Regions from separate parts of the Homo sapiens genome. Here all the other regions are linked to region 1. The links are contacts of gene promoters, found by promoter capture Hi-C in blood cells and fetal thymus (Javierre and others, 2016). All regions are on one chromosome and are shown on one strand. The core of a region is centred on a gene start or on the middle of the fragment in contact, and the rest is flanking DNA. Distances in the headings are between cores, read along the strand shown.

Region 1 (7,601 bases), core at 3,348-5,847:
TCACCACCTTGACATTTTGAATATTTTTTGAACAAGGGCCACCACAATTCCCTTGTGTTTTGGGCCCCACAAATCACACAGCAGGTCTTGCTTTTGGGTCACTAACTGTCTTACTGACTGTTAGAAGAGCCCAGATATTGACAAAAAGGGAACAAGATGAGGTAGAGTGCCCAGAGACACTTGTAACAGGGAACATGTGCTAAAGAAATAACTAGAACCCATCCGTGCTCATGTTCTTGTTTTAATGTTGGTCTTTGTACTGTGGAGATTTCTGTTTTATGTAAAGAACTCCATGTCTCTTAAATTCCTATATTTACAAGTCAAGAAAAATTTATTTGGGTATTTGGGAGTGGAAAGCAGTAGGGAGTTGATCAGGGGAAATGTGAGAGCTTTTTTTTTTTTTTTTTTTTTTTTTTTTTTTTTTCATTATGAGCAGCTTTGGCCGGCAAAATCTGGCTCTGTTGCTCAAATTCCAGTGTCAGGACTTTATATGGCTCCTTTCCAAATGGAGGCAGTCCTAGGCAGGTGCTTGTACTTGTGATTATTTTTATTGTCTAACTTTTGACAGAACTCACCTCCTTCACATCTAGGCTCAAACGTCACCCTCTTTGTGAACCCCATCCTGACCACTCTATTTTAACTTACAATGCACTCCCATCCCCACTCCTCACATTCCAGACTCCCCTTATTTCACTTCTTTTCATTTAAATGCACAAGGCTTGGTGCATAGTAGGTGCCTAATAACCATTAATTGAATAAAGGCATGAGAGACTGTGTTGATAACACACATTCCTTACAGTTAAAGGTAAGCCTGGAGGAGAATAAAAATGTCAGCTTTCTTCTTACTCTCTTTTTCTCAGTTGAGTCTGTTCTCTGAAATTGGATTCTAGTTCTTAAACTTCCTCTGAGTTCATCCTTCAAATAGAACTGAGTCTATGATCGCAAGACAGTTTAAGATCTAATTTTCCAGTTTGAGCATATCCATATTTGTAATGGTATTTTCCAATGTCGCTGTAGGCATGGGGGTAAGAAAATGTATTAGCTGTGGAGGAGATGTTAAGAGTATACGGAATGTTACTCATCCTAAGGGAATCTTTGTGTTTCTGAGGAGAGACCCCTGGGCCTTTTCGTTGTTCTTCAGTGTGGGCCACGTTCACTTTCAGACAGTAACTCTGTAGGGATAACTCTGTCAGTGGTACGTTCAGTCCTTCATCTCACGCTTCTTCATCTCACTCTTCTCGAGAATGCTGGAGTCATTGGTATCCTCAGTTCCAGTATTGTTAAAGGTGAATTTCAAATTACTAGTCTATTTCAAAATACTATTGAATTCCAATTAGCTCACCTTTTGTAGAAAGATCAGCTATTTGTTCAAGTGTGTACTGACTTGAAAAGGGCCTCAAGAGACATTTTAAAGATCAAACATAATAGTTAATTAATTTTAAGCAGCCCTGTGTTTAAATTATAGTTGAAAACTGAACTTCTAGGCAAAGGGGTACTTTGACCATTAATTTAGTAAGGGAAGAGTTGGTGCATGGATAAAGTATTAAGGAAGAACATGAAAGTAATTGTGTAAAATAGAATCTATATTTGGTATACCCAAACTGAAGTATCTACCCTTGAACAATTGTTTCTGCATACTTTCATAATTTTGCTCTTATTCTCTTTAAATCTTTGAGAAGACATCTGACTAATCTAAAATTCAATTTACTGATCTGATATGAGAAATGAATGGCATCACGATAGTAATTTAGTTTTCAATTTGAGAGCCTAAGTGTCACATTTCAACTACTTAATGTGTTTAACCTTTTTTTTTTTTTTTTTGAGAAAAAGAAAAAGACTGGCACTTGGATCTTTGTTCTGTCAAATTCTAGGTATATACGTTTATTTTTTCAGTTCTTTGCAGTGAAAAATAATGACTTTTTAGGCACTTGAAACCAGGTAGAATAAATACAACTGTGAAGATTATTTTATTTTATAGCCAGCAATTGGAGAAACGAATTTTAATGTAAAAAGCAAATAGATCCTAGAGTGTAAAAGTTTTTTTTTTTTCCTCCAAAGTGAGGTCTATGTGTTGCTATGTCTGGGTGCATTGGGGAATTGCCTTCTGATTTCATTCTTGAAGTATACAAAAAATTATTTCAGTGTAGGTAAGTACTAGGAAAAAGCTAAAATGAGAAGATACTCTCTGAGTTTTAGTCTAGGTTGGAGATTCTGAGGCTTAAGCATTTCCAAAAATGAAATAATTCTTGCAAACTCTCTGCATACTCTGTGATTTTATTTTCCTAGGGGGAAAGAGACTAGCTGAGGTGGCTTCCTGGGCAAGGCAAGGGCGAGGGCGAGGAAAGCTGGCGTGTCCCAGGGCGTCCAAGAGGGAGGAGAGTGGATGTGTTGTTTCCATGGACACACCACTGCTCCACTTTTCCTCTAGGTGGTGACAAATGTGACTGGATTTAGCCTGGTGAGGTGTAGGCTGGTTTATGAGAAATTTGTTCCCATAAACTTTTTCCAGTTTTTTCCCTACAACCTTTATACAAGTATATTACTTCCAAGCTAGAATTACTTTGTGATCTTACTTGGGAGATTTGTTTAATCCTTTCTAATGGGATATATTTAGGCTGATGGAATAATCCAAAAATTTTTTTAATCATCAAAAAAGCATACATCTGCATATTCAGGAAGCTACTTACTCTCTTGATGGCTTTTAAGACATTATGAGGATTTTCTGTCTCTATTTGCGTTTGGAACCTTCAGTGACTAAGATTCCTAGCCTTAGAAATAACTGTATACAGCCATATCTTTGGAACATGTGTGGCTTTGGTAAGAGTTATAAGGTACACTGGAGGGAAAAAGGGCTTGAGCGAGGGTGTCCCCCAACTGAAAGAGGCAAATTCAGAACAAGGGTCTACTTGTCTATTTCAATTAGCTAATTAGGAGATATAAGCATTAGAAATAGTGGAGCCTGTGACCACACAACTCACGCAGTCTAATAAAGTAACCTTTAGACAACAGCTGTAATGTAAAAGGCCCATGCCAAAAACAACAGAGCAGAGCCGAGTTCCTGTCCCTTAAAGCAGGACAGCTGAGATGGTGGCTGAGTTTAATGACAAAAAAGGACAAAACAAAACAAACAATAATCCCGACCAAGGTTTTCTGAAGAGAGGAAAATGTAATAATTAGAAGCTAGACATTTAACAAAGCATTGTTTTATGGAAAAGTGCCAACCTTATCAATAGACTTCTGGTGTCTTACTATTGGCTAAGAAGACATTTCAATTTACTGAATGTTTCCTGGGTGAAACTAAGATATTGTATCAATTAGTAAAAAATCTAAATTAGGATTAGCATAATTAGTTATGCAATGAAAATTTTAAGAACAACAACAAAAAATCCCTGATCTAGCATCAGTTTTTAAAAAGTACTCATTTTTTTCCTATACCTAATGTCAGTGGCAGAAAATGCTGAGAAATTGGGATATTGCTTTCCAAAGATCTTTTTCTTCTTAAAACAATTACATCAAAAGTTATAGCTAGGGATAAATGATTGTGACACAGATTTCCAAGTTACTGCCAAATACAGGGTTTTATAAAATTAAAAAGAAAGCTGGATCATTTAAGAAAAGTAATTTATTTCTGGCTTTGACTTTTTCCCGGAACAAACATAAAAAATGTACGATTTTCCTTCTCGGTATTAACAAAATATTTTCCAAATCCACTGCATGCACTGCATTCCTTTATCAGGATCTTATTCAGTTTGTGACTCTGCTGGAAACTGATATCTTAGAATTAATCTGATACGTGCTTTTACCTAGTTTTCTCTTGTTTAATGCTTAAATTACGTATATTAACATTCATTTTAATTATTTTAGGCTTTCTGGAACATGCTACCACACTACAAATATAAAGTTTCAGGTCATTTTTAAAATTTCTTTTTCTCTCTTTAAAAAAAATTCTAACTTTTTGAGGCATTCATAGCTTAAAAAAGTTTCCAAGTTGGGGATCTGTTTTTTTATCTAATGCCAGTCAAATGGACATTTAAGGAAAAACTGCATTTCTAAGGTACACCACAGAGTGTGAAAGATAGTTAATCAGACTGCCTTAACAGCTTTTGATTGTTGTTTAAAATGCAGGCACAGCCTTTTTGAAAATCAAGAACGTTTGCCCTGCACTCAGGTTCTGAAGCCCCAGAGTTACAGAGGGTCATGAGGGTTAAGAGAGAAACAGAGACTCGTCCATGAAGGCTGACAGTTCTGTTTTTCCACTTGCGAGGGCTCAGCGACAGGGGCAGCCGGCCACGGTCTGCCTTCCTCTAAGTAACAACGTTAATGAGTTATAACTGTATGCAGACTTACTGTGATGGCCTGGAGTCTTCCCTTCACCAGCTCAGCTTCTTCCATTCTAGAAGTCAAGGACAGTCAGACGGGGAAGCAAGTCCAAAGCTACCATAAATCAAGGAGCCTCCTGGGGGAGAGGAGCGGGGGTGACAGAAGAGAAGCAGGGAGAAATCCGCTCTTTGCACCAGTGGAGAAATAGAGAAATTCCCGACTTGTCAGGAGCGTCTCCGAGCAGATGCACAGATCAGGCCAGACAGACACATGTAATGAGGGTGTGCTGGGGAGGCAGACGCTGAGGCTGCTGGCATGAGTTGACTGACAAGTTTGAACGGCAGCGGCACAAGCCCTTTTCCTTCAGGAGCTGCCAGCTCTTTGTTGTAATGTGCACAGTTAGCAAGGCACATTTTCTTATTAACTGTTCCTTACCCAATTCATTATTTTCCAGGAGTGGCACAGAGAGCCAACACACTGAGTGTTTAATCAGCCTCTGCTCTAGCAACACACAGCCATCCCCGGATGTGTTGGTCTGTGTGTGTTTGTACAAAGCTCGTTTACCTGCTTGCTAGCTCTAGGGGAGAGAGCCTTACCTTGACTGAGGCAGAAGTGCCAAGTCACTTGTTTGCCTTTCTTCCACTGATTGGATTTGATAATAATACAACAATCTATAGCTACTTTAAACTTCATGTAGTGGTAAATTTACATTGGTTCGTTCTCCCCCGTCTACACCCCACCCCCGACCCCCCTGCTCAGCACTTTGTTGCAAACTTTGGAATCTTTAGGTCATGGAGAAATCAAAGGTGTTAATGTGACTATATTAAGAAGTTGGCCCACCAAGGTATTTAGTGTGGCTTAAGCACCAAGTGCCACCTTTTGTTATTGCTTGACTTGGATTTCTATGGAATGCAGTTTTCTTTCTTGGACGCTGTTCAGAAATGACACTCTTGGCTTTCAGGAAGGTGCCCATTTTGACCTCACCGGTTACGCAAGAGAGAGGAGTGAGCCTTTGAAAATGTGATGAGACATTTGGTAACTGCCTGGAGCCCGGCACTGTGTGAATATTCGCCCATCCTTTAGAAAAAGGCAGGCAAGCCCAGTGAGACTCTTAGGTCAAAGCAGAGGCTGGGAAGCTGTACAATTGGCTCTGTCTGTTTTCTTTTCCCTACAGGTTCTTTAATTAAATTTTGCTGAAGTAAATCCTAATTACCAACTACCTTATTATTATGTGTTTGAATGCTATTAAGCGCTTTCATATCAACATTCAGCTGAAGAGGTTAAAAGGACAACCCAAACATTGAACATATGGTTTAATTTCCTTTGCAGTTTTGATATTAGTAATAATAATAGCTAATATTTGTTGCATTCTTTCTACAGGTAAATGCATACTTGCAAAGTGCTGAGAGATAAGTGCTATAATCCCTACTTTAAAAATGAGGGAACAGGCTCAGAGAGGTAATTTGCCATATAGCTAGTAAGTAGCAAAGCCAGGATTGGAACACCAGCTGCCTGACTTTATAAGTGGCATTCATCAAGGACTGCCCAAGGACACGGGGCAAGGAGAGGCACAGGCTGAAGGTTAAGTCAGTCTTTATGAGAAGTGGTTGGACCCCCAGCCTCCTTCTCTGTCTAGCTCCTAGAACACTACAGCTGGGTGTAACAGCCTAAGGCAGAACGGTGTGGGAATGTCCTCTGGAGAAACTTATTGGCCCTACTGAGGTTTCCCCACATTGTTGACTGGAGTTCCCCAACCACAGAGCCCTCATTCTGTCAGTCACTATAAGGTGAAACCCATGTTTTAAGAGTCTGAAATTATACTTGAGAGTAGTTTGTCCTTGCTCATACACCCTCAGAAGGGATACTTAGGGAGACCAGAGAATGGGAGGATTGTTTGGATGTGTGCCAAGTTTGATTACTGTTGGAAACATATTTAAGTGTAAAAAAAATCAAACCTTCAAGACTTCTGATTATGTTTATTTGTAGATCCTGGCTGAAATTAAAGACAAGAAAGCAGTAATGATAAATATCTCAGTCAGAATTGCATATTTGGTGCCTAGAACAAATGGGCAGTCATCCAATTATTAGTCTGGATCTTTTCCTAAAAACAATTTACCTCTCAAATCTCATTTCTGCTAGAGGAAAACCCAAGATTTTGCTAGTGTAGGGGAGGACAAGATTTAAAAAAAGAGGATGGGAATTTAGGAGGGAGCAGAGTTGCAACAACTGATTGGTATCATCATGTGAGTGGTAGGCAGAAAAGGCTGGAGCTGGGAAAATCTGGGGGACCTGAGTGGAATCCTGGAGCCAGAGCTCTGATGGTCTTGACAATCTCCCTTGGACTGCAATACAGATTAGGATGTTTCCACTCAACTTCGCCTCCCTTTCTCTTTCACCTGCCTCTTAGACATGTCCAGCTCCAGCCTTTTCTGCCTGTCCTCCCATGTTCTCTCATACAGTCATTTCTCCTAATAAAATTCTGTACATTTAACCCATCTTGGCATTTGTTTCTTATAGGATCCAGAATAACATCATCATTTCCACATCTACTGTATTTTGTTTACTTAATCTTTTATTGTCTACCAGAATGTAAGTTCCAGGAGAGGAGAAATTTTGTTCAGACACCTAACACAGTGCCTGACACATCAGAGGTTCTCAATAAATATGTGCAGAATGAATAACAAATGCTTAAAAAATTAACAAGTATTAGTATTGTCAACTAAATGAATGAATAAACACATGATGAGACACATCAGTTGTCAGCAACCAAAGTAGTCCAGTGTTTCTCAGGAATTTTAGCATTCTTGCCATGCTCAGTCACTGGCTGGGAGTAGCCCCTGGGAAGCATAGCCTTGAAGCAAACATAGGAATGGATTTCAGAGTGAAACAGCTTGGGACTCTTGGGTCAATTATGCTCCTGGAGTTCAATGTCTGAGAGGCACTTTCTCATCAGCCATAGTGATAAATGCTATGGAAAGAAAATAGAGCAGGGAGGAGAATAAAGATGGCTAAGGCAGGGAATGTTGCAATTTAGAATTGGGTCACTAAGGTAGCCTCAGTGAGAAGGCAATATTTGAGCAAGGTCTTGAAGAAGAGGTGAGAGTTCGTGATGAGGATATTTATGGGAAAAGCATATCAGGAAGGGCCTGTGCAAATGTCCTGTGGTGGGCCATACCTGCCATGTTTTATGAACAAGGCTAGTGTGGTTAGAGAGCTGGGACTAAGAGAGGGTTAACAGGAAATTTGGTTGGAAATGTAACAGGTCCCAATTCATGCAGGGT
Region 2 (7,601 bases), core at 3,781-6,280, 500 kb after region 1:
TTAATTGCATCAGAAATAGTGACTTATATCTTAATATTTCCAGGTGGGATATGCTATTGTTTGAGAAATATTTATTCCCTACCCACACCTAATACCTCCATGGAAGCAGATACTACCTTAAGCCCAGATATTGCCCTGGCCTGTGGACTTCTGCCCAGTAGATGAGAGTGAGAGTGTGCCAAACCTAACCCTTATGAACAACTATTCTCACTACCCTATCTGGGAGTTTCCGATTTTCCTTATGAGAAAATATACTTCAGGATTTTGCTGTACCTCCTGTCTGGGTGCAAAATGAGACACATGGAATGGAATATCTTCACTAGCCTATCTGCAGACCTGCAAGCAAGTGACTAAATGCCTATTGTTGTATGCTACTGATTTTGGAGTGTTTGTTAGGTGGCATTATTATGACAATAGCAAATTATTAATATTATAATTAGTCACTACTAAGCCCTAAATGAGCCTCTGACTTCTCCCCAGCCTAACTTTTAGAGTAGTATTAGCAGGGTAGTCTTTAGAGTTGGAGGGAAGTTTTGGGTCTTCAGAGCAGACACTAGCACCCAAATCACTTATCTTAGTGGAGGGCAGGTAAGGGTAAAAGAACAAATGCTCTTGGTTTAAGATTTGGGAAAATTTAAGTTTACCTAAGTAAGAAAACAAAAACCAAAAACAGCAGATAACTCAGTCTATCTTGGTGGGAGGAATCAAGGAAGGGAATCAAGAGGTTATTAATGTTTAAGGACAATCCCTCCTCCTGGAAACTAGAAAATTAGAGATGAAGTGTACCCTCTTCACAAACATAAACACTTTGTGCTTTTAATACATTGGACTTAACAATTAAGCATAGGTCAAGCAGGAGCATGAGCAAGTTCTGTTATGGGATCCTCGGGGTGTCACTTTTCTGGCCGGAAACCTCTGTGGCCGGTGGCACCTTTGCCTGAGTTCTGGTCCTGTGTCCAGGAAGAATGAGATATGCAGACAAATGCAGGGTGAGCAAGGTGAAGAGGAGCTTTGCTGAGTGTTAGAAACAGCTCAGAAGAGACACACAATGGGTAGCTTCTCTCTGTAGGCAGGCTGTCCTGTTGAGCGTTCAGGTCTCAGCAGAGAGGAAGCCCTGGAGTGAGTGGAGGAGGAGGAGTGGAGGCCCTGGAGTGAGTGAGCAGGAGAAGGCTCCTCTCCGCGGGCAGATCACCCCAACGAGTGTCCAGTTCTCAGTAGAGAAGCCCTGGAGACGGTAGCTCCTCTCTGGAACTGGTAGTCCCATCATCTCTGCAGGTCTCTGAAGTTCTCAGCAGAGAGTTCCTCTCTGCAGCTGGTCACCCAATTATCTGCTTCTGGCTGAGCACGGGTCTTTTGTGGGCCTCAGAGAGGAGGAAGTGGATGCCAATTGCTCCATGAGTAGCCATGGGGGGACCTGGAAAAGGCACCACAAGTTCCCACTTTGGTCCATGGGACTGGCAGCCTGATCCTAGCCTCAGGCCCTCCCTGGCCTGAAGGTGGAGCCTCATGAGGGACCCGCCCCTTCTGTCCGGAAATCTGTCTGCCTCCTGCTGCTGTTCATCACCCCCAACGCGCAGCAGGACAATGCCCTAAGATCCAGCAGGTGCCAACAGCAGGGATAAGCCAGGCAGCGGGAGCAGGCACTTCTGAACCTGCGAGAGCACAGGTTCCCCCAGGCCCCCAAGAGCACAGAGAGGCTGGATCCACAACTGCAATTTGGGCAGCTGCAGCCCTTCCGAGGAGGGCAGGGCTCCAGCCTGGTCCCTGGAGCAGGAGACCTGGGTCTGCAGCCACAGTTTGGGTGACGGCACCCAGGAAGTTCCCACTCCAACTTGGATGGGGCGGGGCTCCCGCTGGCTCCATGAAGCGTGCAGCCTGGGCAGCGCCTCCCCACTGCAGCCAGGTGATGGCAAAAGCAGGCTTTCTGGCCTCTGCCATCAGTTCCTCAAAGACAGAGGTCCGCAGCCTGTCAGGCAGTTCGGCTTCTACCTTCATAAGCCCCTCCTTCTATTCCAACCACTGCACCTCTCTAGATCCTCCTGGTAGACAGTACACATTTTACTCAGGAAGACTCTGAAGTGACTCACTATTGTAATTAATTAAATTGAATCCAAGGTAATGTTAAATTCAAAGCCAAATGTTTATTTTTGATTTATGTTCTCTTCTAAAATATGACTACCCATGTGGTTAGCATAACAATGAAATTAAGATCTTCTAATAATCAGTGAAAACATTCTTGAGATGCTAAAAATTTTTACTGTAAACTTTGTCATATTACCACATTTCCTGGGAGAAATTAATTCTAAAGATTAACTGTCTTTATAAATCCAAAATTAAAGTCTAAAATGAATTCAAATCTGATATCAAATTATCTTGTCTTATGAATAAAATGTTCAAGGAAATAAAGGTCTTCCATCTGTCCTCTGAAACATTTAATTCTGCCCCCTCTCAGCTAGAAAATTCATGTTGGGTGGATTTGGGGTTTCTTCAACTGCTGCATTCTAGACTGTCTCTTAAGAGAATGGGGGATTATTTTAATGGAATGAGGGATTATTCCAGAGTCTCAGAATTAACTATTTAGTCACTGACATTATGCTAAGGAAGCTGAAAGATTTAAGAAGGACATGAAAGATTTTATAGCTGTTCTCCCCTTTCCAAGATTTTAAATGAGTGACTCTCTAGCCCCTAACGAATTAGCTCAGGCAGCACTGTGATCCTAGACACCTGCTTGTACTTAATGTTGGCCACAACAGCAGCAGGAGCACAGTGGCATATAGGTGAAGGGGATAGATAAAAACAAATCTTGATTTTAGGCTGATTCTATGCAGTTTGCCAGAATCAATGGCCGGTGGAATAAAACTTACTGGAGAGAAATCCCTCTACGAGAGGTTAATTTTGACATTACGGAATTCTCATCTCTAGGGAAATAAAATATATTTCTCTGTGTAAAATCTCTTAATTTCCATTTTGCTTTTGAACACTGAGTTTCTGGTATCCTCACACTGAATTGAATGTGGGTGTAGGATCTATCCACACACCCTCAAGAGCAGGCTTTGGCAGACTTTTGCCATCATGGCTATTGTCACTGCTTTTTGCATGCACCTGTTTGGACCTATCTCCCGAAATCTATCTCCTAGGAAGGTTTTCTCTTCATCCCTACATTTGTTTAAATGGAGAAATCCTTTCCTCAGATTCTTAAGTTGTTAACGCTATTTTTAAAAATTTATTTATTTGTTCGTTTGTTTGTGCTGCAGTCATAGATCACTGCAGCCTCAAACTCCTGCGCTCGAGCAATCCTTTAACCTCAGCTTCCCGAGTAGGCACATGCCACGACACCTGGCTAATATTTTTAATTTCTTTCTTTTTTTTTTGTAGAGACAGGGTTTCACTATGTTGCCCACGCTGGTATCAAACTCCTGGGCTCAAGCAACCCACTGGCCTTAGCCTCCCTAACTGCTGGGATTACGGATGTGAGCCATTGTGCCAGCCAATTGTTGCTGCTATGGATGCTTCTGAAGCTGTGTCCCTGAGGGCCTGAAAAGAATCAATACCTCTGCCATGTGCCCGCAAGATTCCATACACATTGGATTTGGTAACCCTAAAGCCATGGTCAGAGCTTGCGTTATTAACTAATCCAGACCAGTTGGAGACCACATGCTAGGGGCATCATACTGGAGCGTCTGAACCAGCCACATGAATCCGAGATTTGTCCCTCCATGGGACTATGGGTGTAGGATGGGATTTGGAGCAGTTTTCTAACACTCTTTAGGGCTAACACCAACAATTTCAAATCAGAAATTCACTAGTTCACAGGGACACCAGCTTCTTTGCAATTAAAAGTAGGAACTATGATGCTGCCTCCCAGTGCATGAAAATAAATTGAATTCTATGTCAGCCTCTCCAGCAATAGGCAGAGCAGACTGCCCCTTTGGGGACAAGAGGATAAGCTGCAGCAGCTTAGGGTCTGTGAGCCCTGCATGCTTTTTAGTTAAGGCCACTTGCCCACAATCCTTCCTATATAAAAGCAGCCACTCACCTCTGGGCAAACCTGCCATACCTGCAGTAATGCAGCAAGGTCAAAATCTTGCCTGGTTTGCCTGCTTGATGTCCAAGGCTTAAAGTCACTGGCTCAGGCTGCAGCCATCGGTATACCTGGAAAAATACAGCATGATATACACCAGCAACACCTGCTAGAGTCACAAACCCACACGCTCTGTACTTTGTCAAGCCTCAGCAAAGCTTGAAAGCATTCACTCTAACAACACTAGAAGTCTATTTTTTTTTCTTTCCTTAAGCTAAATACCAGACCTCGTTGATCTTTCAGGTAGCCTCACCCACCCAGTCACAGGAAGCACAAGACAATATAGGTGCCTACTGGAGGGAGAAGGCAGTTACTACCAGTTTACTGCATATTTGAGAGTAGATCAATTGCATGCTTTCTGCAGGCAAGCCAATTCCAAGGAGAAAGAAAAGAGTAATAGGTGGAGCTCAACCCAGTTCTTCCTGTCAAATCTATTAATGACTGTAAGGAGGTGTTGAGAGGCAAGAAGTGCTTAGAGAAATTCAGAAGGAAGGGGGAGGAGTCTCACTGGTCCCTCAAAGTAAGGGTTCAGATTTATTATTTTTTTCTAAGCATCTGTCATTAAAACACACTTTTCCCCACTGATTTGAAGTACCACATTTCAATTACTTCATTTATTTTTATTCATAGGCCTACAATTGTCCATTCATTCACCAGTTCCCAACTGTTTAAATTATAAAGGTGTTAAAGATTATATTTTAAATATTTAAGTAGATCATTATTCCCTCTTGCTCTTTTCCCACACTAATTTGATGGATATTTATGTGATCATTTTCTTACATTTAAAAGTAATAATTTTCTGATATTTTGAAATCAGATTATAGATGTGGCATAGGATTCTAATACAATAAACACTTTATAACATATACTTATTTGTACTTTTTTTCCTTCAACTTCTAGACTTTGAGCTCCAAAAGGACAAGGAGGACTTATTTTCAGCTCTGCATTTTATACAATAGTTCCCACCTATGTTGTGATTGAAACAACAAGTTTTTTAAAGAATATATCATTCTTTGTACACCACTGCCTTTTTAAAAGTATCCTCTACTTAGATTCCTTTTCTCTAACTTTTCTATCAGCCGTATTCTGTTTATTCTGCCATAACCACACAGAATGTAAACTCCTCTGAGAAGCCTTCATTTATGCTTGCCCAGGTAGAATCTTAGCCTCTCCTCTAGAATGCTGTATTACTATCTATTGGTCTCTATTTTATCCTCATCATCTTTAACTGTGTTTTTATTTATCTATCTTCCTAGAGATAACAAGTTAGGCTATTGATAGAAGAACTGTAATATTCATGGTTTTTTTTTTCACCCTGGATATTCCCTGACATATACATTTGATAAATGAATGAATGTAATGAATGCGAATTGCTTTTGCTTTGTAATATTTGTCACAATTAAGAATAAATTTTGTGTAACAATTCTATTTTTTAATGAATGCTGTTAAAAATAATTGTAACTGGGGGGCTATTAGATTGGCATGGCTCTAGCGCTTTGAGTTCCTACCAAAGCAAATCAAACCTCTAGCCATTGAGAAACTATCAACTAACCTCCAACTAGGAACTTGCCACTCTAACCAATTATATAATTGTTTGTCTTGCTTGTGCCAACACTTCATAAGTTTCCTTTCTCACTTCTCCAGCGGAGTGCCAAACTATTTGCAGTCCAGTGCTGCCCGATTTATGAATCACTGAATGCTCAAATAAACTCTTTAAAATTTGAATGCAACTAAGCTTATTTTTTAACAATGTCTTTCTCATTAGATAGTAAGCTCCAGGAGATCAGGGACCACGTCAATCTTGTTTACCATTGTATTGTCTGGTTCTGGAACAGAGTAGCTTGTCAAAAAATATTTATCAAATAAATTGTTATTATTTCTTAGTGATATTATGAGACCTTAGCAAATGTTTATGTGAAACATTTGCATAGAAAAATTATTATATATAAATGATCAATACACATTTCAGAAAATAACCCCATTTTATAATGGGAGTCTTTAAAGTCCTTATTTTTTACATTTTTATTTTTGTTTTTTTTGAATAAATAAGTGTTTATGGAGCTTACTCTACAGTAATGTCCAATACTGTACAAAATTGTACAGTAATGTCCTAGGTCTTAACATTCACTCAGCATTCACTCAATGACTTACCTGAGAGAAACTTCCAGTCCTGCAATCTCCATTCATGGTAAATGCCCTATATATGTGTGCCATTTTAATCTTTTATACAGTATTTTTACTGTGCTTTTTTTCTTCTTCTTCTTCTTCTTTTTTTTTTTTTTTGGAGACCGAGTCTCATTCTGTTGCCCAGGCTGGAGTGCAGTGGCGTGATCCCGGCTCACTGCAACCTCTGCCTCCTTGGTTGAGAATAAATCTGGATATATACCCCTGGAATATTATTTTTCAGAATTATTGATTATTTTACAGACCCTTTCTTATTAAAACAACTATAAATATTCAATACAAAAATCTAAATGCAATGACAAGATTTCTTCGGGAAGTAACAAGTGAAATAGAATAGTCCGTCTCTACTAAATACACAAAAAATTAGCTGGGCTTGGTGGCCTGTGCCTGTAATCCCAGCTACTCAGGAGGCACTGTCGCCCAGGCTGGAGTGCAGTGGCGCGATCTCAGCTCACTGCAACCTCCGACTCCCAGGTTCAAGCGATTCTCGTGCCTCGGCCTCTTGAGTGGCTGGGACTACAGGTGCCCGCCACCACGCCTGGCTAATTTTTTGTATTTTTAGTAGAGACGGGGTTTCACCATCTTGGCCAGGCTGGTCTTTAACTCCTGACCTCATGATCCACCCACCTCTGCCTCCCAAAGTGCTGGGATTATAGGCGTGAGCCACTGCGCCTGGCCTAAAGTCCTTATTTTAAAAGTCATCAAGAGACTGTGATCACAGAAGATATCCTTCAGGAAAGTAACACATCTTGCTCTAAGTCAAGATATGATGGGAAATCTATTCATAAAACATTGATAGGGTGCATATAAATAGGCTTTTAGCCATTGAAACAGCAGCCATAGGTTTACTGTGTCAACAGAAATGTATTAACATGACAGCTGGATAAAATAACATAAAATGAGCCATAATACTGCTTCATTTTTATTTCACTTGTTACTTCCTGAAGAAATCTTGTCATTGGATTTAGATTTTTTTATTGAATAGTTATGTTGTTTTAATAAGAAAGGGTCTGTAAAATGATCAATAATTATGAAAATAATATTCCAGGGGTATATATCCAGAACAGCACACTTCTAAGGGAAAAATGCTTCCAAAAATATAGAAATTACTGGATCTCCATATACATGACAGAAAATATCTAGATGCCATTATTAAACAATGTACTAACCACGAACCATCAGTAAGTCATTATTGTTAATATGCATGATACGTATTGTACTTAATATATGATTATAGGAAAGGAAAAATAGTTTTCTCTTATTCTTTCTGAGTTCTCAGATGGAAACCCCTGTAACAAAAGACAGATTAACAGGAGAAAAACAAGCAGAAGTTTTT
Region 3 (7,601 bases), core at 2,475-4,974, 480 kb after region 1:
TAAAAAATTAAATGGCGCTGGAAGCCATTATTCTTAGCAAAGTACCCTGGGAGCAGAAAACCAGATCCCACATGTTCTCACTTATAAGTAGGAGCTAAATGGTGAGAACACCTGAACACATAGAGGAGAAAAACGCACACTGGGGCCCATCAGAGGGTAAGGGGTGGGAGGAGGGAGTGAACAAATAATCTGTACAACACATCCCCATGACACATGTTTACCTATGTAACTAACCTGCATATGTACCCAAGATCCTAAGAGTTTTGTTTTTAAGAAAGAAGGAAAATAAACGAGAAAGAAAACAATAAGGATATTTAGCCATCTAAGCTAGGAGTATCAAAACACTCTTCTGTCTTTTAACATCTTCCTTAAGTTATTTGATATTGAGGAGAGGGAATAGAAGTTTCTAATTCTATATTTTAAAATAAGTCCTGTATTTTATGTTTATCACATAGGTACTCGTTTCATGAGAAAATACCTTAGCATAAACTTTGCAATATAAAGAACTCAAATTTCAAGCTCTGATTATGTCCACAAAGAGAACTTAATATATTGTACATGTGAGAATATGGTTTCTTTGAAGAACTTCAAGATTTGGGGGGTTGTCTGTGGACATGGAATGAGTTATTAAATAATGAAAGTTGGGCCAGTAGTTTTATTGACTTTATGTGACAAATTTCATTAATATTCATAAGATTTTACTAACAAAAAATTTTAGTAATGCTTTGTTTTGTAATATACTTTGAATAAATAAAAGAAACTCATAATAATTATTGTATCTGTTTTCATTGGGACCAACTAGACTCCAAGTGCTTAACATATATTAGTTTTGGTTAATAATTCTCCAAGACATTCTACAAGGTAGTTATTAACCCCATCTCACAAATAAGAATGACATAAACATCCAGAGGTTAAGAAAATAGCCAAACTCATACAATTCATTAATCAACCTCAAGGTTGCTTTCAAAGCCTGTGCTTTTACTATGAGACTGTCTTTCCTGTAATCAGCATGTTTATTTTCAGCCAGTGCCAACTATTTTAGCGTTAATTTTAGGTTGCGCTGCATGTGCTTGTAGTCTCTTTTCTATTTGGATCAGTCAGGGTAGACTAGGATTTGTCGTGGTAGCAATTTAACTCTAAAGTGTCCATGGCTTAACAGTAACCGTGGTTTATTTCTTACTCATGTACGCTGTCAAGTTGACAACTGGAGCTCTGCACTAAAGGTCCCAGGAAGACTGAGGCTCCACCTTCTGGAACCTCACAGGTGCTTCAAGAGAGGGAGAGAGAATGGGGTGTGCCACAGATTTTTCAGTGCCTTTACCTGCAACGACGCAGTCACTTCTACTCACATTTTATTGCCCAGAACAAGTCTGAGGGCCCCATATAACTATATGGTCTTAGGGGAGCACAGCTTCTCTTATGCAGGGAAGAACAGGGGAACTGTTCATTGGTGAACAGTAATATCTACCATAGCACTCATATTGTATGTTAATTCTAATTAGCCTTAAGAAGTCTGGTAGGTATTCAGTGATATAATTTTTAAAAGACTATGCCCTCCAAATTATTTAGGGAAAAGCACATAGACCATATAGCACATACATTATAAAAGGATCAGAGGGAGCACAAAAACAAGCATACAAGCACACAAGCAAAAAGAATTAGATAAATGAGGGAATAAAACCATGCATAATTATTAAAAATATTGATTAGAAAATAACATAAGGACAGAATTAAATTTTAAAAAGATGGTGTCAGCTCTATTAAAGAAACAAAGTCCAACTACAATGCATCCTATGCAGATGAGTCATATCTAAATCTAGTTAAAGTATGACTAATTTTGTATGAGTCAAATACAGGCAAAAAGATAGTAGGAGATGAAATCAGAGATTTGCACAGAATGGCAGGTATCTTAAATAGCTTCACCACCAAATATGAAAGAATCAAAATCAGTTAATTAAGCGTCCAAGCCAAGAAAGTGGGAAAGATCACCAAAATATATGTTAGGAAAGCAATAGGAATGTTTTAATAAGAATATTAATGAATTTTGGAACAAGAGGGGAAGGCAGAATCAAACACAAATTCCCCAGGTTTGATTCTTGGAAAACAGCAGCAGTAACAACAACAACAGCAAGATATCAAGCTTTATCAAGCATCAACGATAATTACCCAAAACATAAATGTCAATGTCACAAGAAGTAGTATACCTTTCTTCTTTCACAAAAAACCTATATTTTGAATTTAATGATTCTTAGATATATGTCGTTGCTAGCTCCAACCTATTTTCTTCTGTTGCCAATAAATTTGATAATCCAAATAAAGAGAAAAACAAAACCAACAATAACAAGAAAATTAAATCATGAAAGATAGGAATATTTCAGAAAATAGAAACTCATAATTTTCTCAACTAATGAATAATAAATTCAATAATATGTAATGAATAATAACTAAAATCCAATATAAACTGATATTGTTGATAAAATACAAATTATATAATTTGATACAAGAAGAGAAACATATCCAAAGTCCAATAACTGGAAAATATTTTGAGAAAGTTGTCAAGAGATCCTTGAACAATATTTCCAATCAAAGTGATTTCAAAGATTATCTTTCAAAGCATGAATAGAAATAGAAACATTGGTATTTAAACTGTGCCTGATTTCATAAAAAGAAAGAAATCTTTTCAATTATTTTGCAAAGTGAGAATTACACATACACTGGAATCTGAGAGAGATAATATAGATTTAAAAAACAAATCTTTCTCTAATCTGTGCAGATAAAAACCCCAGTAAAGCAAATAATAATTTAAAAACAAAATTTGACTATTGATGCAAAAATATGGCATACTCCCCAAATGGTTAACATCATAATGTATTTAATATTTTTGTACATGACCTACTTGAATTATTCTTGGAATTAAGGAATAGTTCAACATCTGGAATGTATTAATTTTATTAGTTATTTTAAGAAGTTACAAGGGTAGGTAAATGATCTTATCAATGAGTACTAAAACAGGTTTGCTAAAACTCAACTATGATTCCTTTTAAAAAAATCATAAACAGTCTGGGCGCGGTGGCTCACACCTGTAATCCCAGCACTTTGGGAGGCCCAGGCGGATGGATCACCTGAGGTCAGGAGTTTGAGACCAGCCTGGCCAACACAGTGAAACCCTGTGTCTACTAAAATACAAAAATTGGCTGCAAGTGGTGGTGGGCGCCTGTAATCCCAGCTACTCTGGAGGCTGAGTCATGAGAATTGCTTGAACCCGGGAGGCGGAGGTTGCAGTGAGCTGGGACCGTGCCACTGCACTCCAGCCTGGGGTAACAGAGTGAGACTTTGTCTCAAAGAAAAATAAAATCATAAACACAAGATGGATATCATTTCTATTTCTTATACACTAAAATGATATTATGTTTAAAAGTGTCATAATATTAAATGCTCCTTAATGTATAACTATGATATATATCTCATGGTTTGCAAAATGCTTTATAGTGAGCCATAAAAGTATTCTATTAAAGTCATGAACTAGAAAGACACAGATACTTGCTACCATCTCTGTTATTTAATATTGTCAGAGAAATGTTAAAGGAGTTAGAAGTTAAAGAAGGAAATACAATGTGTATGCACTAGAAAAGAAAATATAATACATGAATGTCTCTAAATGATATTGTTATATGCTATGCCTAGAGATGACAAGAAATTAACTGAAAAACCAATAGAAGCAAATAAGAGAGTCTGATAAATTAAATTGCCAAATAATCTAAATAATGTACAAGGTAATGTAAAAGTCTCTGTAATGCCAACAACCGCCAGATAGAGGGAAATGAAGGAAAAAGAGATGTCATCTACAATAATAATACAATGATAATTTCCAAGGAAAAAAACTTTAAATAAATTGTACAATATGCATATGTATAAGCCACAGACTTTACTAAGAAGTATAAAATAAAATTTGAATGAAAATAGAGACATCTTCTATTCTTCATTTGAAATTCTTAAATTAGAAAGATGTTGGTTTTACTAAATTAATTTAAATATGCAATGTAGTACTACTCAAAATCCCAACAGAAAGTTTGGAACTTTATTACTTGATTCTAAAGTTCATCTGGAAGAGTAAGCATGGGGAAAATTTAAAATATAGCAGCAATGTGGTATATAGTAATAAAGCAGTGTGGTACTGCCTCAGAATGTGGAAATCAATAGAAAAGGCCAGATGTAAGAGATAAACCAAGTATATGTGGGATAATTTTCTCATAAGGTATATGATAAAAGTAGCATTTCAAATTAATGGCAGACAAATAGATTATTCAATAAATAGCATTGAGATAACTAGCTAGCCTCATAGGAGGAAGTGAAATTGTCTGTAATAGCACAGACGTAAAGCCTATTGATTTGGCTCCTGGTCCTTCCATTTCTCCACTGCTCACTGCCAGTAACCAGGAGAAGCCATCATCACCTCTCCTGGACTAGAAGAGTCTTCTAGAAACTCTCCCCAACCCAGTTTTCTCTTTAACTTAGATTTAAACAAACATAAAACAAACTATCCAGAGTTTAAAAGAATAAAAATTCAGATTAAGATATTTATATTAATAGGAATTTTCAGAAAAGTGTTCTGAGATGTATTACTAATTCCATAATTTTATTTATGGTTATATTATAAAGCCAGTATTTTAACAGTATCTCACCAATAATATGATTTCTGACCTAGAATGAAATTTTGGAATATAATAAAGTAAGGCTTCTATGTTCAAATACAGTCACTTTTTGATTATTCTCTGATTTCACAATAAGAAGTAAACTTTGATGCAAATAATATACAACATTAGATGATACAGAAACATTTCCCTTGGTTAGGAATAGGTTATATTTATTTTTGGAAGTAGATTTTTCTTTGCAACCGTCACATTTTTTATAGGTTCACATTGGGTGAGGGACCAGACCTTAGCACTTACAAAGTATGATTCTGTGACCAGCTGTATCATCTTTTCCTGGGGACTTGCATGGAATGAAGAATCCCAAGAAACATCCTGTAACTATTGAATCAGAATTTGAATTTTCACAAAATCCACATGTGATTCTTAAGAACATTAATATTTAAGAAGCACTGAACCAGAGTGTCTTCTGGGATAATCTCAGATTTGAAATTTTCTTTCCATAATACATGAAATCACAGGGAATAAACAGCTCAGTGTGTCTTTCTGTTTGTCTACCTCTTTTCTACCCCTTCACCAAATGTAAAAATTAATATATATCACAGAAAATGAGAATCGACAGGGATGTTTTGTCCTATGTTCCATGATATTAAGCTTAATCAAGCATCAAATATACTCACCCAAAACATAAATGTTAATGTCACAAGAAGTAGTATATTTTTCTTCTTTCACAAAAAAAGATATTTTGCATTTAATCATTCTCAGCTAGATGTCATTGCCAACTCCAACCTATTTTCTTCTATTGCCAATGATATATATATATATACATATTTTAAATTTACAATCCAAAGCATTGTGCAAAGATGAAAACATTGAAACAATTTGGTTCAGTCAGTATGTGCATGTTTTACTACCCTCTATGACATTTATAGTCTCTCCTGGCAACAAATATGACTTTACAGTTTATGAATGACCTTGAAAGTAGTATGAAATTGAAACCTGTATCCCAAATTTTGAGGCTATTCTTCTAAACTTGTCTATTTTATATATATCTACCTACCTTGGGGAGACAAATTTCTTTTCTTTTCATTCTTTCAGTCAAAGTAAATTGAACAATAATTATGGGTGCACTTTTGCGGCATAAGTACTTTCTAATCTTTCTCTGTCACAGCAGGAAATTGCTTATTGGTATTGTGTATTTCATTTAAAAGCAGATGATCTACCCAACAAGATAAATCTTAGCCATATGCTGGTAGCCTGACAAAAATATCCTAAACAGAAAATATGTTGAGAAAATAAGGTACTTAGAAAATTGTCCAAGCTGCCATTGTTTTAGGGATTTGGATATTGCAAATATATGCTGCTCTCCTGGATCTCAAGGTACACAATGATTTTTATTTTTTATAACAATGCTAAAACTCTCGTTTTCAACCACTGGAGTTTTCTCAATGTGTTTTCTTAGACCATGAAAGAAGGAGGAATCTCCTTTTTGTTCCAGAGGGAAACTTCATATTGAGTAATTCCTGTAGAGGAGACAGAACTTCATGGAAGGAGGAGAAAGGGGGGCAGTGTTGCTGGTCTCTGAGCCACAGTGTGGTGGTGCAGGGTGAGTCTGGGAGAGGAGATGGCATCACATAGCACTCACGTTGTGGCCTCAGGTACAATGGGATACCCGTGGCTACACTCTATCACATCTCTTCATTCATCTTCTCAGCAACTCTCCATTGAACACTTACACTGTTCTAGACACTCAAGAAAGAGCACTCCTTAAGGCAGACAAAGTTGCCTGCCCTCAAGAAGCTACTATTCTAGTGAAAGAAGACAAACAAAAATAAATCAACCAAAAAGTGGAATATTAGAAAATAAGAGTTATGAGAAAAAAGTAAAGTTGGGGTGGGGCACAGGCAGAATTAGGAGGGGTCACTGTATATGGCTGGTCAGTCACCCTTCAAGAATCGGTTCAACACCATTTGAATCTCAGAGTTCCCCTGTGCTTTATAAGATGAATGTTGATAAAAGATTCTCCCTGTCCATGTCTATAGGAGATATCATTACAGCCCTGTGTCTCAGGACTAATTTTTTTTCCATTTTGTTCATTTATCCATTGAGCTATTTTTAAACAAACATATGCTTGATTTTATAATGTCTCACCTCACAATCATCTAAGGGCTTACTGTCTCTCTCTTTGTAAAATCCCAAATCCTTATCATGGCCTATAAGTCCCCTATCTACGAGCCCATGATCTGGTCTGCTGCTGTCTGACTTCATGCCCTGCCTTTCTCCTCTTCGCTCACTCATCTCCAGCCATCATGGCTTCCTTGGCACACCAAATCTTGCCTCACGGCTTTTACACAACTGTTCCCTTTACCTTAAAGGTTTGTTGTCCAGATATCCACATGGCTTGCTCTTTGGTCTTTCCTCAGTATATTTTCAGAGAAGCCTTTTTTGAGCCTCCACCCCCACGCCCATTCACCCCATTGATCTGTCCTCTTCCTGGATCTCAATTTTATTTATAAACACAGACTGGGTATTTACATCCCTAAACTGGATGATTTATGAAAGGCTTCTCCATGTAGCTGACACTTATGCTGAGGTGCTGATATGGTTTAAGCCTCTGTCCCCACCCAAACCTCATGTCAAATTATAATTCCTAATGTTGGAGGTGGAGCCTGGTGGGAAGTGATTGGATCATGGGGGCAGATTCCCCCTTTGGTGATGTTTTTTTGATAGTGAGTGAGGGTATTAGTCCATTTTCAAGCTGCTGATAAAGACATACCCGAGACTGGGAAGAAAAAGAGGTTTAATTGGACTTACACTTCCACATGGCTGGGGAGGCCTCAGAATTATGGCAGGAGGTGAGAGGCACTTCTTACATTGGCAGCAACAAGAGAAAATGAGAAAGATGCAAAAGCGGAAACCCCTGATAAAGCCATCAGATCTCATGAAACTTAC
Region 4 (7,601 bases), core at 3,601-6,100, 440 kb after region 1:
TAGGCTCCTGACCTCCCTTTTCTTAGAGCATTTGCTTTAGAAAACATAATTTTAGATTATTTCCCTGCCTCTCTGAGATGTAAATTTTTTTAAAAAAACCTTTTGCCAGAATTCATTCCTCCTAACTGCACATTTGTACTCATTGACCAACTGTAGTTAACAATATTGTATAGTATATTTCAAAATAGCTAGAAAATTTTGAATTTTGTCACCACAAAGAAATAATCATTAATGTTTGAGGTGATGGATATGTCAATTACCCTGATTTAGTTATTACACAATGTATGCATGTATCAAAACATTATATGGTGTCCCATAAATATGTACAATTATGTGTCAATTAAAAACAAAATACACAATGCTCATCATCACTGGCCATCAGAGAAATGCAAATCAAAACCACCATGAGATATCATCTCACACCAGTTAGAATGGCAATCATTAAAAAGTCAGGAAACAACAGGTGCTGGAGAGGATGCGGAGAAATAGGAACACTTTTACACTGTTGGTGGGACTGTAAACTAGTTCAACCATTGTGGAAGTCAGTGTGGCGATTCCTCAGGGATCTAGAACTAGAAATACCATTTGACCCAGCCATCCCATTACTGGGTATATACCCAAATGACTATAAATCATGCTGCTATAAAGACACATGCACACGTATGTTTATTGCGGCACTATTCACAATAGCAAAGACTTGGAACCAACCCAAATGTCCAACAATGATAGACTGGATTAAGAAAATGTGGCACATATACACCATGGAATACTATGCAGCCATAAAAAATGATGAGTTCATATCCTTTGTAGGGACATGGATGAAATTGGAAACCATCATTCTCAGTAAACTATCGCAAGAACAAAAAACCAAACACCGCATATTCTCACTCATAGGTGGGAATTGAACAATGAGATCACATGGACACAGGAAGGGGAATATCACACTCTGGGGACTGTGGTGGGGTCGGGGGAGGGGGGAGGGATAGCATTGGGAGATATACCTAATGCTAGATGACTCATTAGTGGGTGCAGCGCACCAGCATGGCACATGTATACATATGTAACTAACCTGCACAATGTGCACATGTACCCTAAAACTTAGAGTATAATAAAAAAAAAATAAAAAAAAAAATAAAACTTTGACAATCCTTTTGCCAGTTTTACATCCCAGGACTATCTTTCTTAAGGGTCTGAGAGTCATCCCTTTGAAATATAATCACCAAGGAAGATAGCATTCCTATTTCCCAGTTTCTGTGGGAGGGTGGGAGCCAAACTTCAGTGGATGCCTTGCTCCAAGTTGTAAAACTACTTACTGTCATAAGTTCAGAGAAAATTCACTTGTCCTTTAGGTAAAGCCAATTAGCAAACACATCTGACCTGTGATTCCCTCTTCTCAACTCTTAAAAACTCCCCAGGCCTTTGTTTCAACAGAGTTGAGCTGAGACTGAGCTCTGGCGTCATTCCCCTATGGCAATAGCCTTGAATAACATCTCCCTTGCTTGTTTAACTTTGTCCAGTGGATCTTTCGCTTTGATAGGTATTATAATACATCCTCAGTTACATATGATGAACTTACAAAAATTTGAAAGAAGTAGTAATTTAAGACAGAAAGTATAGTAATTTTCAGGTGTGCCAAAAACAGAATTAAAAATGCTTATGTAATTTTACAGGAAGACTTCATAGAGAAATTGTTTCCTTCATTGCCTGTATTTTATTTTTCATTTAGGTTTTAATTAATTAAGTTGATGTGCATCTTAGAAATATTAACATATCATTTCTTGCTGGTTTTATGCTGAAAAGGCACACAATCCCCTTCTGTTTAAAGTGGAGTTTTTGAGAAATGATAATTATTTTGCTTGTTCTCATGCTTTTAAGTTTCTTATGAAGTAAGCTCTTTATTTTGGGGGAGAAAAATTATCCTGGTAGTTAAGCTCATTGATAACACTAAAATTAATTGATCATCAATCTTTTACATAATTTATTAAGGTAGACATGATGTTTTTGAAAATCTCATTTGAGTTTTACTCTTTAACATGCATTCTATTGCCTATCAGGTTTTATCTTTATGCAAGAAATCATAGTACATTTAGAAATTCCTTTATAAAATTCTTTTATAATACATATAAAAATTCCTTTATAAAACACCTTTATAAAGGTGTACACATTATTGTAATATTATCAAGCCAAATGTCTCAAGTTAAATGACACTCAGATTATTATTAGGTTCCCTTGGCTTCTTTTCACTTGGGCTTCTAAGAATTACTGCATACTAGTATTACGAAAATATTTTGGATCATCCTTGGTTTCCCAAGTAGATATGTGAGATTTGAATTCTTAGAGTTGAATCCAAATTATACTAGATCTAGAAGTCAGGTGTTCTTGAGTAATCTTTTGGGCCACAACTGAGTCTTCAGTGAGTCTTTGGAAACAAGCATTAGCTTAGCTAGCCCATATTCCCCACTACCTTTTACTCTATTTCATCAATTACAGCTAAGAAGATTTGCCTCTATCCAATAGAATTTTATGTCTAGAACTAGTTTTGATTTCAGACTTAGCCCCCAGGTTTCTTCTGGTAGGCAACTCTTTTCAGATGATTCCATGTAAGTTTAGACAAGCATAATGGCTTTTGGTCACATTTGAGATAATTAACTCAGTCTCAAGTGATTTAAATTGTCATCTCTGAACTTGTGTTTCCTTCCTCTGGGTAAATTCTAAAACCATAAACGTTTTAAGAACACTAGTCAGGCATCTTGAGGCTGAGGTGGTGTCCATTTTCAACCACCATGTCATGAAGCCACACAAGGAGTCCTGTGAAGAGGTCCACATGGCAAGAAACTGAGGCCTCTTGGCAACAGCCATTTGAGTGAACCATCAGAAAAGTGGATCCTCCAGCCAAGACTTCTGATGAGTGCCGCCCAGCTAACATGATGACTACAAAACTTTTAAGGACCACTGAGCCAAAACCACCCAGCTAAGCTGAATTTCTGATTCATAGAAACTATGAGATAATACATACTTGTTGTTATTTCAAGCTGCTAGGTTTAGGGATATGGTTTTGCAACAATAAATAACTAATACAGAGTCAAAGATGTGTGTGTGTGTGTGTGTGTGGTGTGTGTGTGTGTGTGTTTCTTTCCTATGGTGGGCTGTCTTCACTATATTGGGGTATTAACAGTTAACTACTGGGTTTGCGTAGGGCCTGAGTTTGGGAGAGGGGAATGGGAGTAGAGATAGTCAAAAGGAATATATTGAAACACATTTTATTATCATATTGTCACAGAAAGTAATATCTCTGAAGAGATGGAGGTAATGTCTTAAATTTAATAGTAATGACGCCCTCAAATCCATTTTCCACATTGCAACCAGGAAGCTCTCACTGAAGGGTAAATCAGCTATATAATTCCGCTGCTTAAATCCCTTAAAAAGTCAAAGCCAGTACTCCATAAATGGTTCACAAGACCTCTGTTAACCTGTGCTGTGCTTATCTCTTTAGCCATGATTCACCAACAACTCCAGTCTCCAATCTCTGGTCTTAGGCTTTTTCTTCTGCATGGAATTCCAAACTCTTACCCTGACTTTTTTGGACTCCAAGTTATCTAGCCAAGTTTAGGTCTCCTTCAAGACTTTCCTGACACCCTAAACACAGTTAGATGCTTTTTCTCTAGGCTGCCATAGTATCCTTGCTTACATCTGAAATGTCCTTTATTGATGAATATTAATATTACCCTCCTAATATCTATCTTTCCCAGTATAGTATAAGAAATTTGAGGGCAAGGATTGTGTCTGTTTTATTTTGCAACTTCAGTGCACATTTGGGAAAATAATTATTATTCAATGAAGACCTAATAAATTGAAGAATAAATAAACACAAACTTATTCCAAGCCAAACTGGTATAATGCACACAAACTTTCCAAAAAATAAATGATACTTTCTATTCCTTTTTTAAACATATAGCATTACAAATGTTTCTAAACTTTGGGAGTTATTTCATTAGCAGGAAAGTCAAGATTGCATTCTTTGAGCATCACTAAATCTTTTAAAGAAATGTGATATTTTCCTTTGGGGTTGTTTTAACTTGATTATTAATGATATCCTTTGTAAAATGCATGGAAGCTTTTGTGACATTACAAATGTCCTTTTCATAAGCCTTATCATTAATCAGAGCAGGTAGATATGGGCAAAAATTGCATTATAGCAAAGAGAATTGAATGTTCCCTATAAATTCAATAGTTTAAGGCCTTTTCTTCTTAACATAATTCTCACTGAAGCAGTTATGCTCTACTTATACACCATAGTCTCACTGGTTGTCAGAAAACATTATTAATCCCATTCCAAACTTGGACCTACTGTTGTGATTCTGTATCCAGAAGGAAATAAAATATTTCATGCTTTTACATTGTCTTAGTTCAGGCTGCTATAACAAGAATACCATAGACTGGGTGGCTTAAACATCAAATATGTATTTCTCATCATTCTGGAGGCTGGAAAGTCCAAGAGCAGGGTGCCAGTGTGGCCAGGTTCTGGCGAGGGCTTTCTTCCTGGTTTCCTCACATGGTGGAGAGAGACAGTTGGGGGTCTCTTCATCCCTGTATAAGCACACCAATCTCATCATGGGAACTTCACCACCATGACCTCATCCAAATTCAGTTACATCCCAAAGGTCTCACCTTCCAACCCTATCACATTGGGAATCAGGGTTTCAGTATATGAATTTTGGAAAAACAGAAACAGCCCATAGCAGATATTGACCCATGTTGGATTGTAAACTGGTATAAAGGGAAAGATTTTTTTTCCCTGTCATCACAATACATTGGTTCTGGCTCTGCGCTGTTGGGTCTTTGGCTTTAAGCCAGGAATCTAACCTCTCTGAACCTGTTTTTTATGATAAAATGGGTGTAATCATTTCCATATCACCAGATCACTATGCAAATTAAATAAGATTATATATCTTTTCTATTATGTAAAATGATATACAACTATAAGATGTTAAAGTATAGTTGTGTACCACATAAGGACTTTTGGTCAGTGATGGACCATATATGACCATAGTCCCATAAGATTATAATGGAGCTGAAAAATTCCTATCACCAAGTGACACTGCAGCAGTTGTAAAGTCACAAACACATATTACTCATGTGTTTGTGGTGATGCTGGTGTCAACAAACCTACTGCACTGCCAGTAGTATAAAAGTATAGTGGATACATTTATGTACAGTACATAATAGTTGATAATGGTAATAAATGACTAAGCTACTGATTTATGTATTTACTATACTACACTTTTAATTTTTATTTTAGAGTGTGCTCTTTCTACTTATAGATTAAAAAGTTAACTGTAAAACAGCCCCAGGAAAGTCCTTCAGGAAGTATTCCAGAAGAAGGCATTGCTATTATAGGAGATAACAGCTTCTTGTATATTATTGCCCCTGAAGACCTTCTAGTGGGACCAAATGTGGAAGAGAAAGACAGTGATACTGATGATCCTGAACCCATGTAGGCCTAGGCCAGTGCATGTGTTTGTGTCTTAGTTTTTATAAAAAAGTTTAAAAAGTAAAGAAACAAAATTAAAAATAGAAACAAGCTTATGGAGGAAATATATAAAGAAATTATTTTTTTACAGTTGTATAATATGTTTGTGTTTTAATCTGTCTTATTACAAAGGAGTCAAAAGGTTTTTAAACAAGTTTATAAAATAAAAAGTTACAGTAAGCTAAGATTAATTTATTACTGAAAAATATTGTTTTATAACTTTAGTATAGGCTAAGTATACAGTGTTTATAAAATTTACAGTAGGGCTGGGTGCGGTGGCTCACGCCTGTAATCCCAGCGCTTTGAGAGGCCGAGGTGGGCAGATCATGAGGTCAAGAGATCGAGGCCATCCTGGCCAACATGTTGAAACCCCATCTGTACTAAAAATACAAAAATTAGCTAGGCATGGTGGTCACGCACCTGTAGTCCCAACTACTCGGGAAGCTGAGGCAGGAGAATTGCTTGAACCGGGGAGGCGGAGGTTGCAGTGAGCCGAGATTGCGCCACTGCACTACAGCCTGGTGACAGAGTGAAACTGTGCAAAAAAAAAAAAAAAAAAAAAAAGAAAAGAAAAGAGAAGAAAAAAAAGTATATAGTAGTGTATAGTAATATCCTAGGTCTTCACATTCACTCACAACTCCGTCACTTACCCAGGGAAACTACTTACAGTCCTGGAAGCTCCATTCAAGGAAGTGCCCTATACAGATGTACCATATTTTGCCTTTTATATATGTTTTTACTGTACCTTTTCTATGTTCAGATATGTTTAGCTACACAAATACTTGCATTGTGTTACAAGTGCCTGAAGTATTCAGTACATAACATGCTGTACAGGTTTGTAGCCTAAGAACAATAGGCTCTATCACATCGCCTATACGTGCACTAGGCTATACTACCTAGGTTTGTGTTGGTATACTCTGACATTTTTATGACAACAAAATTTCCTAAGGATGCATTTCCCAGAACATATCCCCATTATTTATTTATTTATTTTATTTTATTTTTTTTGGAGATGGAGTCTCGCTCTGTCGCCCAGGGTGGAGTGCAGTGGCATAATCTCGGCTCACTGCAACCTCCGCCTCCCGGGTTCAAGCAATTCTCCTGCCTCAGCCTCCCTGGTAGCTGGGACTACAGGCGCACACTGCCATGCCCAGCTAATTTTTTGTATTTTAGTAGAGACGGGGTTTCACCCTGTTGCCCAGGCTGTTCTCGAACTCCTGAACTCAGGCAATCCACCCGCCTCGGCCTCCCAAAGTGCTAGGATTACAGGCGTGAGCCACCGTGCCTGGCCCATATCCCCATTATTAAGTGATACTTGAATGTAAATCTAATTTTTGGTTCCCAAGAGTAGCAAAATAACAACAAAAACAATTATAAAAACACAACTAGCATTTACATTTTATCCAGGTACTTTCCACATATTAACTCATTTACAATTAGCATTGAATTTTATCCAGGTACTTGCCACATATTAACTCATGTAATCCTCAAAACAACCCAGTGAGGTAAGTATTTTTATTATTTCCTGTTGTGGTTTGAATATGTTCCCTCCAAAATTTAGGTGTTGCCAATGTAATCGTATTAAGAGGTGGGGCTTTTAAGAGATGATTAGACTTATAAACAATCGCCATTCTGACTGGCGTGAGATGATATCTCATTGTGGTTTTGACTGGCATTTCTCTGATGATTGGTCATAATGAGCACTTTTTTTCATATGTTCATTGGCTGCTTCAATGTCCTTTGAGAAGTGTCTGTTGATGTCCTTTGCCCATTTTTTAATGGGGTTATTATTTTTTCTTTGCTTGTTGATTTAAGTTCTTTATAGATCCTAGATATTGGACCTTTGTCAAATGCAGAGATTGCAAACATTTCCCTGCATTCTGTAGGTTATCTGTTTTACTCTGTTAATAATTTCCTGTGCTGTGCAGAAGCTCTTTAGTTTCATTCTCCCACTTGTCAATTTTTGTTTTTGCTGCAATTGCTTTTGGGGACTTAACCAAAAATTCTTTGCCAAGGCAGATGTCAAGAAGAGTATTTCCTAGGTTTTATTCTAGGATTTTTATAGTTTGAA

The links. Contacts are between HindIII fragments. The CHiCAGO score rates a contact against its expected background, and 5 or more counts as called.
Region 2: a contact is called between a fragment that was not itself captured here and the fragment with the promoter of PALMD in region 1, in 1 of 17 cell types (M1 macrophages). The highest score is 5.5, in M1 macrophages.
Region 3: a contact is called between a fragment that was not itself captured here and the fragment with the promoter of PALMD in region 1, in 1 of 17 cell types (monocytes). The highest score is 6.9, in monocytes.
Region 4: a contact is called between a fragment that was not itself captured here and the fragment with the promoter of PALMD in region 1, in 1 of 17 cell types (M1 macrophages). The highest score is 5.1, in M1 macrophages.

The regions. Positions count from the first base shown.
Region 1 is chr1:99,643,109-99,650,709 of GRCh38, reverse strand. It overlaps PALMD (palmdelphin), which reads right to left and starts at 4,597. Exons shown (of 8, transcript NM_017734.5): 1 at 4,348-4,597. The coding sequence starts at 4,392. The HindIII fragment of the contact is 18,161 bases long and covers 1-7,601 here.
Region 2 is chr1:99,140,587-99,148,187 of GRCh38, reverse strand. PLPPR5-AS1 (PLPPR5 antisense RNA 1) reads right to left here. Exons shown (of 3, transcript NR_033940.1): 2 at 4,058-4,152; 3 at 1-1,414. Among named protein-coding and RNA genes, the nearest start is that of PLPPR4, 120 kb to the left of the region's middle. The HindIII fragment of the contact is 1,577 bases long and covers 4,242-5,818 here.
Region 3 is chr1:99,164,959-99,172,559 of GRCh38, reverse strand. No RefSeq gene overlaps it. Among named protein-coding and RNA genes, the nearest start is that of PLPPR4, 96 kb to the left of the region's middle. The HindIII fragment of the contact is 3,163 bases long and covers 2,143-5,305 here.
Region 4 is chr1:99,206,957-99,214,557 of GRCh38, reverse strand. No RefSeq gene overlaps it. Among named protein-coding and RNA genes, the nearest start is that of PLPPR4, 54 kb to the left of the region's middle. The HindIII fragment of the contact is 1,468 bases long and covers 4,117-5,584 here.